Regions from separate parts of the Homo sapiens genome. Here region 1 is linked to region 2. The links are contacts of gene promoters, found by promoter capture Hi-C in human tissues and cell types (Jung and others, 2019). All regions are on one chromosome and are shown on one strand. Each heading gives the region's core, a stretch centred on a gene start or on the middle of the fragment in contact. The rest is flanking DNA. Distances are from core to core; before and after follow the strand shown.

The links. Contacts are between HindIII fragments. The study calls those that stand out against the background at their distance.
Region 1: a contact is called between a fragment that was not itself captured here and the fragment with the promoter of ACD in region 2, in 4 of the 25 tissues and cell types used here (mesendoderm cells, pancreas, small bowel and 1 more).

Annotation. Positions count from the first base shown.
Region 1 is chr16:67,693,973-67,699,320 of GRCh38, reverse strand. The region is part of intron 1 of GFOD2 (Gfo/Idh/MocA-like oxidoreductase domain containing 2); the gene reads left to right. Among named protein-coding and RNA genes, the nearest start is that of GFOD2, 23 kb to the left of the region's middle. The HindIII fragment of the contact is 7,245 bases long and covers 1-5,340 here.
Region 2 is chr16:67,658,556-67,663,986 of GRCh38, reverse strand. ACD (ACD shelterin complex subunit and telomerase recruitment factor) reads left to right here and starts at 3,727. Exons shown (of 12, transcript NM_001082486.2): 1 at 3,727-3,865; 2 at 3,942-4,084; 3 at 4,192-4,285; 4 at 4,374-4,450; 5 at 4,568-4,612; 6 at 4,724-4,758; 7 at 4,908-5,059; 8 at 5,171-5,267; 9 at 5,346-5,431. The coding sequence starts at 3,767. PARD6A (par-6 family cell polarity regulator alpha) reads right to left here and starts at 3,027. Exons shown (of 3, transcript NM_001037281.2): 1 at 2,886-3,027; 2 at 2,310-2,532; 3 at 1,213-2,091. The coding sequence starts at 2,948. The coding sequence ends at 1,340. It overlaps ENKD1 (enkurin domain containing 1), which reads left to right. Exons shown (of 7, transcript NM_032140.3): 4 at 1-50; 5 at 167-330; 6 at 431-567; 7 at 666-1,042. The coding sequence ends at 826. RefSeq lists silencers at 2,761-3,240, 3,551-3,660 and an enhancer at 3,814-4,397. The HindIII fragment of the contact is 13,160 bases long and covers 1-5,431 here.

The sequences.
Region 1 (5,348 bases), core at 469-2,968, 37 kb before region 2:
CCCAGGCTGGAGTGCCAGTGGTGCGATCTCAGCTCACTGCAGCCTCTGCCTCTTTGGTTCCAGCGATTCTGCTGCCTCAGCCTCCTGGGTAGCTGGGACTACAGGTACCCACCATCACGTCTGGCTAATTTTTTGTATTTTTAGTAGAGACGGGGTTTCACCATGTCAGCCAGGATGGTCTCAATCTCCTAACCTCATGATCCGCCCGCCTTGGCCTCCCAAAGTGCTGGGATTACAGGTGTGAGCCACCACGCCCAGCCACATTGCTAGATTTAATTTGCTAATATTTTGTTGAGGATTTTTGTGCCTAAGTTTATGAGACGTATTGGTCTATAGTTCAGTTATTTATTTTATTTTATTTTTTTGGCTCTCCCACCCTGCTGATAATCCCAAATCCTAGTGATAACTGTCTGCTCCATTTCATTCCCTCCATTAGACCCTCCTTATGTCTTACTTGATATCCTAACTGGTTCTCTGTGTCTAATGTCTCCTAAACTCTATCCTACCTACGTCTTTCTGCCAAATTAAAGAAAAAAAATGCAGGCCGGGCACAGTGGCTCACGCCTGTAATCCCAACACTTCGGGAGGCCGAGGTGGGCAGATCACCAGAGGTCAGGAGTTCGAGACCAGCCTGGCCAATATGGGGAAACCCCGTGTCTACTAAAAATGCAAAAATTAGCTGGGCATGGTGGCGCACACCTGTAATCCCAGCTGCTCGGGAAGCTGAGGCAGGAGACTTGCTTGAACCTGGAAGCAGAGGTTGCAATGAGCCAAGATCACGCCACTGCACTCCAGCCTGGGTGACAGAGCAAGACTCCATCTCAAAGAAAAAGAAAAAGAAAAAAAATCCAATGGTTCTTATTGCTTACCTGCATTAGTCAAGGTCTAGACAGGAAACAGTCAGTGTACTCAAAGGGTTAATTAAAAACTCTTTAATGAAGGGATTATTCACAATAGTGTGAGTAGTAAAGGAAACATACAAGGGATAGTGGAGCACCCAGGGACTGGCAAGGTAGTGTCCCCACCCTAGGTGCAATGACGGAGTGGGGATGTGTCACTGGAACCCAGCAAAAGCAATGGCCATGGGAGAGAGGGGTCCTCTAAAGGAGCTGTGACCTTGGTTAAGGAACACAGCTCTGCCAGAACCATATCCTGGGAGGGAGAGAAGGCAAAAAATAAACACCTTGGCCTTTCCTCCTGCTCGCTGATCTCTTCCTGGTTCTTTCCCTTGGCTGGACTCAGATGGAAGCCAGAGGACCTGGAGCCCAGGGCTTTAGAGACTGACCTTCTGACTCCAGAGACAAAAAGCAGGGCAGAGAGGATCAGGTAGGGAAGGAGGAGCAGACCAAGAATACTGAGCACACCCACCTGTCAAAGTCCAAACTCTTGAGATTAACACTTTACGCCACCAGTTCTGGCTCCTACTCACCTTGCTGACTTGTCACCCCTGAAATTAGGACTTTTCATCTTTTTATGTCCCACAGCTCCCTCGTTAGCTCCTCAGAAAAGGTGAGACATTGACCAGATTAGTATTGGTTTTGAACAGTGGATCAGAGGCAAACAGTCACCCCCAGAGCAGACAGTGGAAGGAACTTGCCTGGCTCACACTCATGAGGAAGGATGGAAGAAGAGTTGCTCCACACATGCACATGTTACAAAATGACTCTTTTTCTTTCTTGTTTTTATAGAGGCTCAGAGAAGTGAAGTAACCTGCTCAAGGTTTCATGCTGGTTGTAGCAGGTCATGCACACAGCCAGGCGTGGAACCCTGGGAGAGTTACCTCACCTCTTTGAGCATGTTTTCTTATCTGTACAACAGGGTTGCATGGAACAAGGGACAGACTAAACACTGGCTGCCCTATTATACTCACTTCATATTAGCTCAGAATTATGACCCTCATATTTCTACTCAACTTTTGAAGAAGAGACATCTAAGTCAGTCACAGATAGTTAACAGATATCTTTTTTTCAGAAAAAGATTCCCTATGTACTGACTCATATCTAATTGGCCAGGCCCAATTATAAGTATTCTACAAATATTAACTCAATCCTTAAATCCCCTGTGAGGTAGATAAAATTTCCCCATTTTACAGATGAGGAAATGGAGATACAGAGTGACTAAAGGACTTACCTGAGGTCACCCAGCTGGAAAGTGACAGAGCCAGGATTTGAACCCAGGCAAGGCCTTGTCAAATTGTATATAGCCTGTCCTGCCAAGGCACACTTCATTCCTGACCAGCATGTGGTGATGGGAAATGTATGTGGTCTTGGCAGGACTGGGTTTGTGGAGATCTTTGGAGGCATCTGAAGGATATGTGCAAGGATGTTAAAGACAAAGAGTGGGGAAATTTTAGGGGTGAGAAAGGGTAGCCACTGAAATTAACAAGGAAAACCAGCTCTGCCTGCTTGGGCAGGAAATACCTAGTCAGCAAGCCTGCCTGCCTTCATGCCATCTGGCTTCCTCGGGGGCCAGCCAATACCCCTTTATGGGAGTTGATGAAGCTTCCCTTTGAGTCAGTGGCAGTAAAACAGGTTATTAAAAATTTTTCGGCCGGGCGCAGTGGCTCACGCCTATAATCCCGGCACTTTGGGAGGCTGAGGCAGGCGGATCACGAGGTCAGGAGATCCAGACCATCCTGGCTAACATGGTGAAACCCCGTCTCTACTGAAAATACAAAAAATTAGCCGGGTGTGGTGGTGGGTGCCTGTAGTCCCAGCTACTCGGGAGGCTGAGGCAGGAGAATGGCGTGAATCCAGGAGGCAGAGCTTGCAGTGAGCCAAGAGCGCGCCACTGCACTCCAGCCTGGGTGACGGAGCGAGACTGTCTCAAAAAAGAAAAAAAATTCTAGTCCATTCTGTTGTTTTAAGCTACCGATACTTATATATATTTTTCACTTCATATTGGCTCAAAATTATCATCCTCATATTCCTACACAGCTTTTGAAGAGGAGACATCTAAGTTGGTCATAGATACGTAATAGATCATTTAAAAAAAAAAAAAAGATTCCCGGCCGGGCGCGGTGGCTCACGCCTGTAATCCTAACACTTTGGGAGGCTGAGGCGGGCAGATCACGAGGTCAAGAGATCGGGACCATCCTGTCCAACATGGTGAAACCCCGTCTCTACTAAAAATACAAAAAATTAGCCAGGCATGGTGGCGGGCTCCTGTAATCGCAGCTACTTGGAAGGCTGAGGCAGGAGAATCGCTTGAACCTGGGAGGTGGAGGTTGCAGTGAGCCGAGATCGTGCCATTGCACCACTCCAGCCTGGGCAAAAAGAGCGAAACTCGATCTCAAAAAAAAAAAAAGGGTTCCCTATGTAGTGGATACATACATTCCCTATATATACCCAAATACAACTAGGGTGAGAAGGAACACGGTGTGAGAGTGGAGGAGGTGTGCCCTGGGCATGAATTTAGAGAAGACATGGACTGTGTCTCACTCCCTTAGCCCTGTAACAATTAGTAATTAATGACCAACAAAATTTGGCTGGGCACAGTGGCTTATGCCTGTAATCTTAGCACTTTGGGAGGCCGAGGCAGGAGGATCACCTGAGGTCAGGAGTTCGAGACCAGCCTGGCCAATATAGTGAAACCCTGTCTCTACTAAAAATACAAAAATTAGCCAGGTATGGTGGCGCATGCCTGTAATCCCAGCTACTCGGGAGGCTGAGACAGGAGAACCGCTTGAACCCAGGAGGCTGAGGTTGCAGTGGGCCAAGATCATGCCACAGCACTCCAGCCTGGGTGACAGAAATGAGACTCCGTCTCAAAAAAAAAAAAAAAAAACTTAAGTAGAATCTCACTACTTACCTAATGCTGCATGCTTGACACTGTCAAGCTCCTATAACAGCCATAACCTGTAAATAACCAAGACACCTGTAAAAGCAGACAGTGACCAAATAGCCGAAGGGAGTCCAGGACATGAAAATTGTAGAAGATAACTGTGTGCTTGACCTGTTTTCTAAGAAAACTAGTAGAGAAGCCTGTAGGGGCAGAATTAGCAAAGAGAAAAGAGAGAGATGGTGGCTGGGCTCAGTGGCTCATGCCTGTAATCCCAGCACTTTGGGAGGTCAAGGCGGGTGGATCACCTGAGGTCAGGAGTTCGAGACCAGCCTGGCCAACATGGTAAAACCTTGTCTCTACTAAAAATACAAAGATTAGCTGGGTATGGTGGCGTGTGCCTGTAACCCCAGCTACTGAGGTAGTAGCTGAGGCAAGGAGAATCGCTTGAACCGGAGCGGCAAAGGTTGCAGTGAGCCGAGATTGCACCATTACGCTCCAGCCTAGGCGACAGAGTGAGACTCCGTCTCAAAAAAAAAAAAAAAAAAAAAAAGAGAGAGATGGAGAAAGTAGAAAAGGAAAGCAAGGTGACTGAGTGGCCACAGACAGTTTACCATCAGAAAGAATGAAAGCTGGTTAAAATAAAACAACCCCAGTGAGAGTACAGGAGGCAAGCCAAGCTTCACAGTCACAGAGAGTGGAGACAAGAGGCACGAAATTGGCAGGGATCTGGAGTTAGAGGCAGCCCAAGTCATGTGTAATTTAGTGGTTCACAAAGGAACAGGTGTACTTCAGATAGAATCGAGCAGTACAGGATGTTATACTGGGCTATGCTGACAAACCATCCCCTACTATAGACATTTTCTTAGTCCAGTACACTTGTGTCTACAGTAGGAGCAAAAGAGATGCTGGGCTTGAAAATGAAGTTGAGAAAACAATTTCTCCAGCCGTGGTGTCTCATGCCTATAATCCCAGTGCTTTGGGTGGCCGAGGTGGGAGGATCACTTGAAGCCAGGAATTTAAGACCAGCCTGGGCAACATAGTAAGATGCTGCCTCTATATTAAAATAAAATTAAAAAAAACTTTTTTATTAAAAAGCCAGGCTCAGTGGGTCACGCTTATAATCCCACCACCTTGGGAGGCTGAGCTGAGAGAATCGCTTGAGGCCAGGAGTTTGAGGCCAGAGTTTGAGACCAGCCTAGGTAACACAGTGAGACCCCATCTCTACAAAAAATAAAAAATTAGGCCAGGCTCAGTGGCTCATGCCTGTAATCCCAGCACTTCTGGAGGCCCAGGCGAGCGGATCACCTGAGGTCAGGAGTTTGAGACCAGCCTGGCGAACATGGTGAAACCCTGTCTCTACTAAAAATACAAAAAAATTAGCCAGGTGTGATGGCGTGTGCCTGTAATCCCAGCCAGTCAGGAGGCTGAGGCAGGAGAATCGCCTCAGCCTCAGAGCTCGGGAGGTGGAAGTTGCAGTGAGCCAAGATTGCACCACTGCATTCCAGCCTGGGTGATAGAGCAAGACTCTGTCTTAAAAAAAAAAAAGTATGTCCTAAATGCCACTG
Region 2 (5,431 bases), core at 2,478-4,977:
CACCCCATGTATCTAGTCCCCAGCCAACCCCACCAGGTCCCGAAGCTAAGGTGAGAGGATGTATGGGGGCTAGATGGTGGTTGGGCAGGGCTCCTGGTGTGGGGGGGGTGTTCAGGGACACAACATAATGCTGTCTGCCCCCACCCACGCTTGCTGTGTCCTGCAGGAGCCAGGCCTGGGGGTGGACTTCATTCGTCACAATGCACGAGCTGCCAAGAGAGCCCCCCGGAGGCATTCCTGCTCACTGCAGGTCCTGGCACAAGTGCTAGAGCAGCAGCGGCAGGCCCAGGAGCACTACAATGCCACGCAGAAGGGCCATGTGCCACATTAGTAGGTCTCACTGCCCGACACTCAGGGTGAAGGACACCTGTGGAGGGTGGGAACCAACCTCTGCCCTCGGGTCATCAACTCTGAGCCTGTGTACCCACAGCTTGTTGGAGCGCAGGGACCTGTGGCGGCGGGAGGCCGAGGCCCGCAAGCAGAGCCAGCCGGACCCTGCCATGCCCCCAGGCCACACGCGCATGCCTGAGAACCAGCGGCTGGAAACACTGACCAAGCTGCTCCAGAGTGAGTACCTGGGCAGGGAGGCTGGAGGGGGGCCCCACTGGGGACCGGGCACCCCTGCCCAACACTCACTGTTCTCACTGTTCCCGGGCCCCCTGTAGGCCAGAGCCAGCTGCTGCGTGAGCTGGTACTGCTGCCTGCTGGGGCAGACTCACTGAGAGCCCAGAGCCACCGTGCTGAGCTGGACCGGAAGCTGGTGCAGGTAGAGGAGGCCATCAAGATCTTTTCTCGGCCCAAAGTCTTCGTGAAGATGGACGACTGAGCCCCTTTGGGGGACAGTGGCAAGGAGCTCCATGCTGAGGATCGCCACATGGCTGCAAAGGACAGGGTTGGACCCAATCCCAGAGCAGAGGTCTGAAGACAGGAGCAGGGGGGTGGCCAGTGTCCCTAGAGCACTCTTCCCAGTCACCAGTGGCTGCAGAAGGGCCACCCTAGCCTTTTAACTGCTTTGTCAAAATTAAACATTTTGTACACAGGATTTGTTTCCATAAGAGCTTTTCTTACCCTAAAAATGCCAAGCCTGGTGGCCCTCCTGCTGCTTGATTGCAGGAAGTTCTCCCCAATGTCACTCCTGCCTTAGTCCAGAGCAGAAGGCAAGCTGGTGAGACCAGGGAGGAGGCTGGAACTGGGACACACAAGGACCATGACTGTATTTGTAGAAAACCTTTAATGTTCCCCAGGCTGAGGGAGCCCTGTGAGCCAGCTAAAAACCCCCACTGTGAAGTCCCTGCCATGTCCCAGCAGTGTGGAGTGGCATGGGGCTTCATCCTGACTGTCAGAGGCTGAAGCCACTACCATCTCCTCGAATGCGACTCCCCCAGCCAGAACTGGCCTGCTCCTGGTCATCCAGGGAGGGCAGAGAGCTGCGGGTACCAGGATGTCGGCAGCCAGGGTGCAGGTCCCAGCACGGGGGCCCCTGAGACAGCCCATTGGAACTGGGAGGCTGGCGGTTCTCAATGACCAGGTCACTGCTGTCATCGTCACTATCAGGCTCAGCAGGCCCAGGCCCTGCAGAGGGAGGACCTGTCAAACGCCCAGATGCCCCTCGCACCACGTTATTGCGCTGGTTGGCGGGCTTGACAGTGACAATGAGGTTATGGCTGTTGGCAACCATCATGTCCGTCACTTGGTCCAAGGTCTTCCCGGCTACTTCAATGCCATTGACCTCGAGGATCTCATCACTGACCGCCAGCAGCCCTGTACTCTCAGCCAGACCCCCACGTACCAGGCGGGAGATGAAGATTCCTGGAACCCGCTCCAGGCCCTGGGGAGCCACACGCACGCTCATGCCATCTCGGATGTAGAAGCCCAGGGGGCGGTCTGAACCATGCTTGTGCAGCCGCACCCGTCGGTGGGTCTCAGGCAGTAGGTCCACGTCTATGACTGAGGAAACCTGGCGGAAATCTTGGGGCAGGCTGATTAGCAAGGGTGGCCGGGTGCGCAGGGGTGCCACTGGCCGCAGCAAGAGCCCTTTCTTGCGCCGCTGCAGAGAGTTGGAGGCAAAAGCCAGGCCGCTGGAGTCAGCTTCTGCTGCAGAAGAGGGGGGATGTTGAGATCAGAGACCTGCTCCCCGACTTGGGCTGTTTACAGGGGGCACTGTAGCTATTTCCTACCACTTAGAGGTCAAGCCAAGGGCAGGGACTGCAGAGGGTGACGCTTGGGTACCCTGGGCATGGACTAACCCTTGTAGACCTGCCCCACAGACACCTTACCCCACAGAGGCTGCCCACTGTACCCCTCCTCACCCCGCTTCTGCACCAGTAGGCGCAGTGGCGGGGGCCCGCTGGCCAGGGCCCGGTGCAGGCTGTCGTCGTTGGTGAGGGGCAGCAGGTCGCCATGAGCATCCGTATAGCCAAGTAGCACGTCCAGGCCCGGGATCTGGTGCACCGCCCGCAGCAACCGCGAGAACTCCTGGAAGCCGCTCACCGAAGCGCGAGGCAGCGCGAAGCGTCGGAACTCGGCGTCAAACTGGAAGTCGGGGTTGGGGGAGAGGAGGAGTCAGGACAGCCTGCGCCCCTTTCTCACCGCAGGCTGGCAGGAATGGGAAAGATGCGGCTGCCGCTTTTGCGGCAGCCTTAAGCCCAGACCTCAGCTCCAGTACCAGGGACGCTGTCCAAGGTCTTCTTACCGCCCTCCAGGTACTCAGGCCACAGAGAGCTGGAGACCAGCAGTGGAGGAAGGAAGACGGATGGGGGAAGGCGAGCAGAAAAGCAGAATGGGACTTGGAGGATAGAGGGAAGAGGTGGCGGGGACCAAGGAGCTGGGAAGGGGAGAAAGAGGGAATTGGGAGCGCCTAGGGCCGAGGCCGGAGGAGCCCTTACTTTGCTCTTCACCTCGACGATGCTATCGGGACTGCGCGCCGGAGTCCTCTGCGGCCGGGCCATGGCGGGGCCGGGCGGGCCGGGGACGGTGCCCCAGGCGGCCCGCCGAGGCGCAGGTGCACAGCCCGGCCGGCCCGCCCGCGCCGCCCCGCCCCTGGCGGTAGCACACGCCCCGCCTTCCCATCCGGAGCGTGACGTCAAGGGGGCAGCGACGCAGAGTGGAACGCGGAGTCCACGTTTCCTAGGAAACGGAGCCGTGGATGGAGAGGAGCCGTCCTCCGCTCTTGCGTCATCACGCTGAGGTCCGCGCGCCCCCGGAGTCTGGGGAGCAGGGCTCCGCCAATCCGAGGGGAGGGCGAAGGAAGTACCATTTATTTAGCGCTGTGTGTGTGCTCTTATTTCCACTGGCCTTACAAGACCGTGCACTGTGTAGATGAGGAAACTGAGTCATAATAAATATGTGCTGAACCGTTCGGGGGTCACACGGTGCTGAAATGGTTTCGAGTCAACTCGCTCGGACGGCACTCGGCCTCAGCCTCCGGCCCTGGAACCCTCTCCAGGGACGGGACCAGCCCTTGTTCTGTTCCCTACCGGTACCACAGGAATCTTGACGAACGGCCCAAATGCCTGGCCGCTGTCAGAGTGACGCCGCGATGAGAGTAAACGGGCCAGCATCCCGTGCACCAGCGGGGTGGACCAGCGGGAGTCTGCACACAGGCCCCCGAGCAGGACGCCCTCGTGCGCAGGCGCGGGGTGTACGTGGGCGGGGCCTCCTCCTCCGGCCCCGCCCAGCGAAGGAGCTTCCTCTTCCGAGGAAAGGCGGGGCCTGGGCGCCCGCGGGAAACCCGGGCCCGTTGCATCCGCTGGGTGTAGCCGTGGGGATGGCAGGTTCGGGGAGGCTGGTCCTACGGCCCTGGATTCGGGAGCTGATTCTGGGGTCAGAGACACCCTCCAGTCCACGAGCCGGGCAGCTGCTTGAGGTGAGCCCCCATTCAGGGCCCGGAGACCGAGGCGGAGGCCCGGGGTGGTGGGATTGACGCCGCTCGCCGCCGTCAGGTACTACAGGACGCCGAGGCCGCGGTCGCGGGCCCATCCCACGCCCCTGATACGTCCGACGTCGGGGCCACGCTGCTTGTGTCTGACGGGACCCACAGTGTCCGATGCCTGGTGACGCGGGAGGCCCTGGACACCTCGGACTGGTGAGAGGCCCCGCGCGGCTCTGGAGGTCGGAGTCCGGCAGGAGAGCGCGAGGTGGGCGGGCCTTGTGTTCAGGTGGGCCCGGCAGTGAGGATCCTGCTTGTTGCAGGGAGGAGAAGGAGTTCGGCTTCCGCGGGACAGAGGGCCGGCTGCTGCTGCTGCAGGACTGCGGGGTTCATGTCCAGGTCGCTGAGGGCGGCGCGGTGAGTGGTGAGACTGCCTTGGGCGGGTTACCGGGCATGACTCTTCGTGACGATTCTGAGACCCCCCCTTCCCCCCGAACTCCTCCAGCCCGCAGAGTTCTATCTCCAGGTGGACCGCTTCAGCCTGCTGCCCACGGAGCAGCCCCGGCTACGGGTGCCTGGTTGGTAAGTGATGCCTCCGCCCTCCAGCAGCTCTCCCCACCCCAGCCTGGCCGGCGCTGGCAGACGCCTATGGGGTAGGAGGGCTTGGGCCCCCATTAACTACCCTTCTCTTTTTCTTAGCAACCAAGACTTAGATGTTCAGAAAAAGCTCTATGACTGCCTTGAGTGAGTCTGGGGTTGGGCTCGGGGGCCACGTGTTGTTTGGTGAGGGGATGGTGTATCTAGGTAGACAGGCCTCAGCATGGTTCCTGAGTCCTGGCCACTCTCTTCCTGTAGGGAGCACCTTTCAGAGTCCACCTCGTCCAATGCAGGTACTGTAGAGCTTGACCAGTGATCCTAACACGCTGTGCAGTGATCTCTCCAGCCTTAACCTTATGCTTCCTCAATAAGCTGTCTTCCCCCTCACCCTCCTGGTCCTCCCCTTTAAGCCTTGACTCATCCCATGGTCCCCTGTCCCCAGGCCTATCACTGTCCCAGCTTCTGGATGAAATGCGGGAGGACCAGGAGCATCAGGGGGCACTCGTGTGCCTGGCTGAAAGCTGCCTGACACTGGAGGGCCCTTGCACAGCACCCCCTGTCACCCACTGGGCTGCCTCACGATGCAAGGCCACGGTCAGTCTGGGGATTTGCTTGGGAGATGTCAGGGTGAGGAGTTGGGCAAGGGTCATATCCCACAGGACATGAGAGTAAACGGGCCTGTCCTACAGAGTTCATGTCCCACAGGGAGAAGCTGTGTACACTGTCCCCAGCTCAATGCTGTGCATCTCTGAGAATGACCAGCTAATTCTGAGCTCTCTAGGCCCCTGTCAGAGGACACAGGGTAAGGGGGACTGGAGAGGTTGGGGGGATACCTGGGGCCCAGGTCCACAGTGCTGATAAGACTTCCTGAACCCCCCAGGCCCTGAGCTGCCCCCACCAGACCCGGCTCTGCAGGACCTATCTCTGACCCTCATAGCCTCTCCTCCTTCCTCACCCAGTTCCTCA